Linked DNA regions of Homo sapiens: region 2 is linked to region 1. Evidence: promoter capture Hi-C in human tissues and cell types (Jung and others, 2019). All regions are on one chromosome and are shown on one strand. Each heading gives the region's core, a stretch centred on a gene start or on the middle of the fragment in contact. The rest is flanking DNA. Distances are from core to core; before and after follow the strand shown.

What was found. The method cuts DNA at HindIII sites, captures the fragments that hold promoters and counts their contacts. A contact is called where the count stands out against the background at its distance.
Region 2: a fragment that was not itself captured here is called in contact with the fragment with the promoter of AADAC in region 1 in 1 of the 25 tissues and cell types used here (heart right ventricle).

The regions. Positions count from the first base shown.
Region 1 is chr3:151,811,818-151,816,769 of GRCh38, forward strand. It overlaps AADAC (arylacetamide deacetylase), which reads left to right and starts at 2,299. Exons shown (of 5, transcript NM_001086.3): 1 at 2,299-2,483. The coding sequence starts at 2,346. The region is part of intron 1 of AADACL2-AS1 (AADACL2 antisense RNA 1); the gene reads right to left. The HindIII fragment of the contact is 13,838 bases long and covers 1-3,488 here.
Region 2 is chr3:151,865,589-151,870,540 of GRCh38, forward strand. The region is part of intron 1 of AADACL2-AS1 (AADACL2 antisense RNA 1); the gene reads right to left. Among named protein-coding and RNA genes, the nearest start is that of SUCNR1, 5.6 kb to the right of the region's middle. The HindIII fragment of the contact is 7,136 bases long and covers 1-4,952 here.

The DNA.
Region 1 (4,952 bases), core at 1,049-3,548:
TTCCTACCCCTTCAGAAAAATCTCTCAAATTCTCATAACAAAAATCATCCCTAGATTTGGTCTCCCTTGTTCCATACAATCAGATAATGGGCCTAGCTTCATCTCCCAAATTACCCAACAAGTCTCTCAATCCCTTGGTGTTCAGTGGTGCCTCCATATCCCATACCAGCCCCAGTCATCTGGAAAAGTCCAAAGGGCAAATGGAATTCTCAAAACTCAGTTAACCAAACTCACACTTGAGGTTAAAAAACCTTAGACCTCCATTTTACCCATAGCACTGGCTCATATCAGAGCCAGTCCAAAGGCCCCCTCCTTCCTCAGTCCATTCGACTTAATGTATGGATGCCCTTTCCTCTTACAAAACAGACCCCCTCCTGAGTATCAATTAGAATACCTCCCAACACTCTCCCTCATCCATCATCTCCTCTGCGAACAAGCTGACCAGGCCCCCACAAAACCCCACCAAGGCACCACTGACCAAACACTCCTTCCAGGAGAATATGTCTTCCTAAAAATCAACAAGTCTCATGCCAAAGTGCGAAATCCCTTTCCAAGTCCTTCTCGCTACCTCCACTGCAGCCAAACTTTGAGAACACAAGTCTTGGTACCATCTTTCCAGGTTAAAAAGAGCACCTGCAGCTGACCCATCACCAACTAACCAACCAGCTGTTCCCTGCAAATACTCCAGCACTCTTCTCAGACCAATTCGACTCCGCCTAACGCCCATGCCTGAAGACCCCACTCTTCCCTCATGAACCATAGCAGATAAGTTATCACCCCTTACCATTAAGTATCCAAACCCTTATTAATGGAAATCATCCATTACGCTGCCCTTGCAGGAATCACCCTACTTACTCTACTCTTTGCCATAGGAATATATACTGTCTTGCCTCCTGGGTGGAATTTCAGACAAAAAAAACTCAATATTCGTAACCTCTTGCCTCATAATCCTCCTCATAGCAGGTATAATAGCCACCACCAACAGATAGTGGCCCCTCCTAAATGTCCTGTCTTTGCCCATCCTGGCATTTCACACTCTTCCTTCACTGCATCACAGAAAACCTTTCATGGTCCTACCCAGAACATCCCACCCTCACAGCATTCCTTGATTGGATCACCAATCTTATATTTCAAGGGGATTTACAGGAATTCACTCCAGATGAAGCCGAATTCTTTACCTTTACACTTGCTCTCTGTCTATTTACTCCTTCTTCCCTCCTCCTTCTCGCTACCGCTCCACCTACAGCGCACCATTCCACAGGCACATATGATACTCAGTCAAACTAACCCCTCCCTGGCCAAGGCCTGCTGGTACACCCCTCAGAAACCGTATCAAAAGATGTCTTCCCAGCTCCCCTCAAAGACTGGGTTCTCAGCAATATGACCCTCCACCCCCGCTACCAAAGTTTTGGAGAAGTAAATGCACTCAAAAGTTACAAACTCAATCTTACCACACATACTGCAGAACACAAGGTTATCTTAGGAACACTTACCCCAGACTCAGAACTCAGTCAACCAGCATCCCTATGCATAAAGCGTGAACTTTCCAAAGGAGTGCCCCTAGGCACCCTCTCCTCTAGCTTATGCAACTGTACCCTAACACTCACTCCCCCGACAGGCATCCAAACAATAACAGAAAAAAACCCCACACAAACTCTCAAAATCTCCAACCCCCGTCAGACCCAAGTCACGGGAGAAACATCAGGATTCTGCAATAACTGACACAGGCCCTGCATAGAAATCGCAGGGTGGAACACTTGCCTAAACCCCGTCCCCACTTCCCAATGCATGGAAATCCCACTGCCTAACACACCCTCAAACAAACTACTTATTGACACAAAACGCTTCTTATGGACTCAGCCTGGGTGACAGAGGAAGATTCTGTATCAAAAAATATATATATATACACACACACATATATATGTATATATATGTGTGTGTGTATATATATAATTTGTTTTTTCCATGATAAGCTATTTTAAAACAAAGATTCTGAATTCTGTATGTTTTCTATGGATAATTTTGTTAGAGTTAAAGAATTTGTTCCCGAGTTATTACTCAATACATGCTGTTTATTGGAATACAGATAACAGCATGATCATTGACAAACTTTGCCCTAGTTTCCTATTACTCATTAAACCTTGAAGTTGCACTTAACATGACTGTATCTGGATAACAGATAAAATTTTGGCCTTATTATGCCAACCCTTAAACTAAGTGAGCAACTCTGTTTTCAAAGCTTTTGGGTGGAGCTGAAGCACACTGCTTATTAAAGTACACTATTCAGGCATATCATGTAGGTTTACTTTCTGTGTTTCTAGAGACCAAGAAGCGGGACGTTCACCATGGGAAGAAAATCGCTGTACCTTCTGATTGTGGGGATCCTCATAGCATATTATATTTATACGCCTCTCCCAGATAACGTTGAGGAGCCATGGAGAATGATGTGGATAAACGCACATCTGAAAACTATACAAAATTTGGTAAGTTTGGAATTTTATGAATTCAGATGTGCATACACCACCATTTGACCCAGAGAATTAAGTTTTTCAAGATTCTATTCTTTTGATTTATTGACTTATTCATCTTTTAAAATAACTGCTGTGGCCTTTGACAATGTGTTACTTAGAAATGTTGTTTGTTTTCTGTCTTATGTATTGGAATCATGTTAAAAAAATATCAAGAACAGCAAGCAAGGAGTCATTTGAATAGGTTTTGCTAAAAAGTACTTTGTTTAGGTAGCTTTAATATCACGATAGTGGCTCTCCTTTGAAATTCTTATCTTAGGTATGGTTTGTTCCTTAAATTTTATACTCAAATTAGAGATCATCTGATTATGCAGCACTGTGTTAGTTACAGATTTTTATGCACTTATCTTTGGGATTCAGAATATAGACTAAGGACACGTAAATAAGTTCTCAAGAAAAGATTCAATGGGCAGGCTGGTTGGCACATGCCTAGGGTTAACCACGAGACGGCACAATATGCACAAATGAGAGGGGGAGGGAGACCTGGGTGTCCTGGCAACTGGGCAGCTTGGATGCTGGCAAATTAAAAAGGTGTAGCTCTCTCTGGATCCTTGATGATATTTTACTATTACTTCTTTGGTTATTTTATTATCTTCATTAAAACAAATCTCTTTTCAGAACTTAAACCAGATAAATGTTGTAACTCCTGGATTAATCTTTTATTTTGCATTTATTCAACAATTCAACTGTCTCAAATCCTATTAGGCAAACAAGTAGTCTATCCCCACACAGTTGACATTCTAGTGGTGGAGAAAAAAATAAATTAGAATTAAATGAATAAATGATTTTAGTTCATGAGAAGTACCTTTAAGGAGGTAAGATGGAAGAAAAGAGAGTAATTTGGGCAGAAGGCAAGAGTGGGCTACTGTATGCATGGTGAGAAAAAGCCATTCTGAAGAGGAAACAGCTACTTAGGGACCAGAAGAATGAAAAGAAACCAACCATTCTAAGTGCTAAGAAAAATGTTTTCCAGCAGAGACACCAACAAGTAAAAACACCCCAGCTACAGAATATTGACAAGTCCAAGAAATCATATGAAACATTTGGGTTTAATGGGGAAATTGTTGCAATTAGTTTGGAGAGGTTAGAAGCCATATCATACAGTGCTTTGTGGGCACTGGTAGTAAGTTTTGATTTAATTCTGTATGTGATGCAGAGCTATTAAAGAGCTTTAAGAAAGGGACACATTTTTTTCCCTCATATTTGCTGTCTGTGCTACAATATGTGAGAGGTCTTTGATTTTTTTCTTGGAGTCTTTATATTAATTTTTATTTATTTAAGCAATTATATATATATTCTTCTCTGGTAGCCTTTTAATTAATTAATTCATTCATTTACTTACATTCTGTCCACAATTTATGAAAGTAATGTATTTTCAGAGCTCTCAGTCGATATACCTTTTAAAAGTTGTTTTAATGCCCTTTCTTATTCCTGAATTATCTGCTTGTTTGTTTGCTTGCTTTTTTGTGATCGTTTATGCTCCTGGTTTGTCCCTTTTTTCCTGATTAGTTTTGCTGGCTTCTCTGAAATGTCTGGCAATCTTTGAGTGTTCATACCCTTTATTAAAGGATTATGTTATGAACATTACATCAAGAATCAAACTACTGGATTGAGAATCCTGGTAAATATCATTTACTAGTTGTGTAGGCATGGACGACATATTTAACCTTCCTGGGCTCACTTTCCTCATATCTGACATGGATAAGAAAATGTTATCTTCCTCCCATATAAGCAAGTTGTTAATATTACTGAGATGACTACAATAGAGTGCTCAGAACACTGACTCATTCTACAGTGAAAGGATGGGCTGCAGGCAGGCAAGCTGCCCTCCCTTTTTCTCCCACTCATTCCTTCCCTCCCAACCCTGACTCCCAGCTCCCATGTGCAACCAGCTCCATAGCCACACCTCACTGCACCTCCCTATTTCTAAACTAAACCAGTTCCTCGACCTGCCAGGGTTTTTCCTTTTCTTATTTGGTTAGCAAAAGACTTAGGAAAAGGTATTTATTTCAAGCCTCAGACAAAATTGCTTTTCCAGTTTCTACTCCCAAGTAGCTTTTTGTAATCACCTGCTGTTCGCTCCCAAAGTACTTTGTACAGAGCTCTGTAATAGTATTTACATTGTTTTGTAACCATTTATTTGTCTTTCACACTTAACTCTGAGATTCTTGAGAAGAGCATTTGTCTGGTTCATCTCTGAAACCGTAAAGCTTGGTAGAGAGCCTGACACATTTTAGTGACATAGGAACTAAATTAGTAGCAGGGGTCACAATAAAACTTCATCTTTGCCCTCTGAAAGTTGCTGAAAGTCAACTGACAGGTCTGGTTAATAGAAGAAAAAGGCATATACATTTTTAGCATACATAATAGACTTACAAAATATAAAATCTCAAAGAAATGGCCAGATGGTTGACACTTTTTTTT
Region 2 (4,952 bases), core at 918-3,417, 54 kb after region 1:
TTGAAAAGAAGGTAGGATGTGAGACAGATAATGAAATATTAATGTCTGAGTTAAAACTATGGAAGAGAAATTAGAAGAGAAATATCAGATATTGCTTTCTGAAGGGCTTTTTTAAAATTATACTTTAAGTTCTGGGGTACATGTGCAGAACATGCAGGTTTGTTACATAGGTATACATGTTCCATGGCGGTCTGCTGCACACATCAACCTGTCATCTACATTAGGTATTAACCTAATGCTATCCCTCCCCTTGCCCCCCACCCCACAACAGGCCCCAGTGTGTGATGTTCCCCTCCCTGTGTCCATGTGTTCTCATTGTTCAACTCCCACTTATGAGAACATGTGGTGTTTGGTTTTCTGTTCCTGTGTTAGTTTGCTGAGAATGATGGTTTCCAGCTTCATCCATGTCCCTGCAAAGGACATGAACTCATCCTTTTTTATGGCTGTGTAGTATTCCATGGTATATATGTGCCACATTTTCTTTATTCAGTCTAAAATTGATGCACATTTGGGCTGGTTCCAAGTCTTTGCTATTTTGAGTAGTGCCATAATAAACATACGTGTGCATGTGTCTTTATAGCAGCATGATTTATATTCCTTTGGGTATATACCCAATAATGGCATTGCTGGATCAAATGGTATTTCTGGTTCTAGATCCTTAAGGAATCACCACACTGTCTCCCACAATGGTTGAACTAATTTACACTCCCACCAACAGTGTAAAAGCGTTCCTATTTCTCCACATCCTCTCCAGCATCTGTTGTTTTCTGACTTTTAATGATTGCCATTCTAACTGGCATGAGATGGTATCTCATTGTGGTTTTGATTTGCATTTCTCTAATGATCAGTGACGATGAGATTTTTTTTCATATTTGTTGGCTGCATAAATGTCTTCTTTTGAGAAGTCCCTGTTCATATCCTTCACCCACTTTTTGAGGGGTTGTTTATTTCTTGTAAATTTGTTTAAGTTCCTTGTAGATTCTGGATATTAGTCTGTGAAGTGCTTTTCTAATCACTGCTTCTCTTCCTCCTCTCATAATGCTTGGTATTTTACATTCCAGAATCTAGTGCTATTGGAAACAGTTTTGTTTTATTTTCCCTGTATTCTAATCTCTGCTATAAATTAGTATTTCACCAGTTCCTGATAGATAAACGTACACGTCTTCAAAAAATGTTGAGTGAAAAGGGGGGAAATAGTAGAATAAAGGGAAGGGCCATTTTCACTCAAAAAGTATGCTTCAAGTTTGAGGATGACAGGCTTTTTCAGTGGCAAAACAAATTGATGCAGCTGTTGCATTTTACTGCCGTCACAGTGAACAAACACAGACTTTTGTTTAAAGTAAATGGTCTTTGGGTAGAAGTTTCTGTGTTTGGAGGTCCTTTGGCAGGGACAAGGCTTGTTATATCCCTTTCCCCAAGAAGGGTGCATGGTGGAAGGTCAAACTGCTGTATTCTCTCTCTCAAGCTTGCTATTGTTTTTCTTTCCTTCTTTTTTTTTTTTTTTTTTTCATGTTTTTTAGAATAGACATTGTTAGGTCCTAGCCTGGGGATGGGTAAGAGTGATTTTCTCCTTTAACATCAGGAAACAGTGTATACACACAGCTGTCAGGGAGGGTTCTCTGCCACTCTCTCTTCCCCTAGGGTGAGTCCTCCCATTTCCATTGTGCACAAGATATTCTTCATTTTTCCCAGAGTCAGCCTTCCCAGCCGTATCCCCTCTAACCACTCTGAGGCTGATGTCCTTGTTGTGATGATGAGGGATCTAGAGTGAATGACTTAGAAGCATTTTTCTAGATCTGACAGTCCACACATGGCATTTTGACTGGCAATAATTCTTTCAAGTAGTACAAATTATGTTAGGATTTAAAGTTAGATGAAAGTGAAAAAATACAACATATGGACACATAAATAATAAATATAGGATGGGGAGATATTTTTTAAAGCAGAGAATGAGGTATTTCCTTAACGCTTTACATTGCTTATAATTGTCAGACTGCTACATTCTGAAAATTCTTTATTTGCTTTATTACAATACTGACCTAATGGTAAAGCCAAATTTTATCAGCTTTACAGTTAACAAATCAGCATAAAATATAAGTTTAAATGTAGTCAGTACATTAATGATTATATTATAGCGATAAAGATACTAATACAAAGGAATCATGCCACTGAGTGTGTTATTAACAGGGGCAGGTAATTTTCTTTAATTCATAACACAGTCACAAACCACTTAGCTCACTTAATGAACACATACTCTTGTACTCCAGGGAATTTTGAAAACCTCTCAATTCAATTACTAGGATGCTCAATGAGATTCAATCAGACTGACTTCTTGTTCTTATTTCAAGGGCAAATAATATATTCAAGCAAGTAAAATGAAGAGTGGTTAATTAGTAGCCAATTGAAAAAGTACATCAAGACAATAAACTAGCTGCTTTTTTGTTTCTATAAATAATGTAAAATATTCCAGGAATCAAGCAAATTTGTACAAAATACAGTAAATGTGACTGGAAGAGACTGAGTAGTCAAGTAATCAATTAGCAAATTAATAAATTACTTTAATATTTTAGGCAAACTCTTTTCTTTAAATAAAAAAGATGCCTTGATCAGCAACAGTTAAGAATGAAATCTGGCCTGGTGTGATGCCTCATACCTGGATAGCAAAGTGCTATCCAGTACTTTGGGAGGCTGAGGTGGAAGGATTGCCTGAGCTCAGGAGTTCGAGATGAGCCTCGCTAACCTTTTCTCTACAAAAAACCTAAAAAAATAAATTAACCAGGCGTGGTGGTGTGCACATGTAGTGCCAGTTACTCAGGAGGCTGAGGGCAGGAGGATCGCTTGAGCCCAGGAGATCAGGGCTGCAGTGAGTTATGGTCATGCTACTGCACTCCAGCCTGGGTGACAGAACAAGACCCTGTCTCAAAAATAAATAAATAAGTAAATAAAAATAAAAAGATAAAGAGAGAGAAAGAGGAAATGAAATCTGTCTCTAATTGTACACAAATGCCTGAATTTCATATACCGCTATTTCTATTCAAGGAAACAAAACAACATTATTTGTATAGAGAAACACCTGTGATTAAGGTTCAGCACATATTATCAAAAATGAATTAGCTGTGGAATTTGCATATAAACTGAAAGATAAAAGGTGAATTTGCTGTGTTTCTAGGTTAATTGTTAGTACTTCAAGGAACTTAGAATATTTTAGCTGTAGTCAGATGCTTTTAACAAATAATGTGTTTTAATTTAGCAGAACAATTCCTTTGAGTTATGCCCAGTACCAATAGATATGACACATATTTTTCTTAACTGTATAATCAGAAAAAAGTCAGTAATGCAAAAATTTCCATTAATAATGTAGCTCTTAAATGACAAGGATTTTCATAGGAAAAGGAAGTAGATTGCTTGAGTGCCTATTTTGAATAGACCATTTTCCGTGGTAAAGTAAATTTGGTTAATATAATTTATTGATTTCTAGAAGCCGGAAGAATTTTGAGACATGCACAAATACCTTCTGCTGTGTTTTTCCTTTTGCTGTTTGTCCTTTATTATTTTGCTACATGAAACCATTCATTGAAAAAGGAAGTAACCATGTAATCTTGCTTATATCTATCCAGAAACACCAAAATATCCTCCCCAATAATCTTGATTTGTTTCAACTTCTGGGGGTTGTTATTATTATTATTGTTTCTCCTTACGGGTTTAGAAGAAAGTCCTCGAATTAGATTAATTGCCCTCTTCTTTCTCTGCTTGTGACCCTTGAAGATTAGCATGACCCTTAAACCAGTTTTGTTTTCCACACAGACTTTTTGGGCTGTTAAATGTGGCTTGTAAACATTCCCAGAGACGTTGCTAGGAGAATCTTTCTATAAATACTTTAACTATTTATTTTTAACATGTTTGATTTTTATCTAAAATGTTCTATTCTTTTTGGAAGTTGGAAGATTTAAATTATTAAATTTGATAATCAATAAGTTTTATAACTAATAATTAAATTTAGTGTTAGTTTTAAATTTATTTTACTAAACTATATAAAATTGCCATATATAAGGTAAAAATGTTCCAATATCAATAATTTTATGTTTCAATCTAATATTTTCATCTTTACCATGAGTGACTCAGGAGAATAATGGAGAAGAGTTTGGATTCAGGAGTCAAACAGATAAGGCTTCAAATTATACAGCCAAATCATGTATTAGCTGTGTATTTGTGGATCATTTATTTAATCTTTATTAGGCCTTGATTTCTTCAACTGAAAATGAGTGATATTAATAATATCCACTGCATTAAATTATTGTGAATATTAAAAGAATCACTGCATACACTGTGTTATTATAGAGTGAATGCTGAAAAAATGTTAGTAGAAGTTATTATTAATTTTTTTTAGACAGGATCCCACTCTGCCACCCAGGCTGGAGTAAAGTGATGCCATCATAATTCATTACAGTCTTGACATCCTGGGCTCAAGTGATCCTCCCACCTCAGCCACCTGAGTAGCTGGGACTACAGGTGTGTTCCACCACTCCCAGCCAATTTTTTCGATTTTTAGTAGAGGAGGTCTTGCTATGTTGCCCAGGTTGGTTTTGAATTCCTGAGCTCAAGTGACCCTCCTGCTTTGGCCTCCCAAAGTGCTGGGATTATAGGTGTGAGCCACCGGACCCAGCAGAAGTTATTACTAGCATTGGATTTAATTAATATTTATATTATATTTCCCACCATTTTCTTTTTCCTCTTGAATTTCCTGATTAGTTTGCCTGGTTTACATGAACTGCTCTTCAATTTCAAGCCCATTGCATTTTCAAACATTATATAATTTGATACTATGAACATTATGAGTTTGATGGGTAGGAATTATTATTCCCCTTTTCCAAACAAGGAAATCAGGTTATGTGATTTTTTTTCAAAGATCACACAAACTAGTAAAAGGCAAAGCCAGGATTAGAACTCACTAA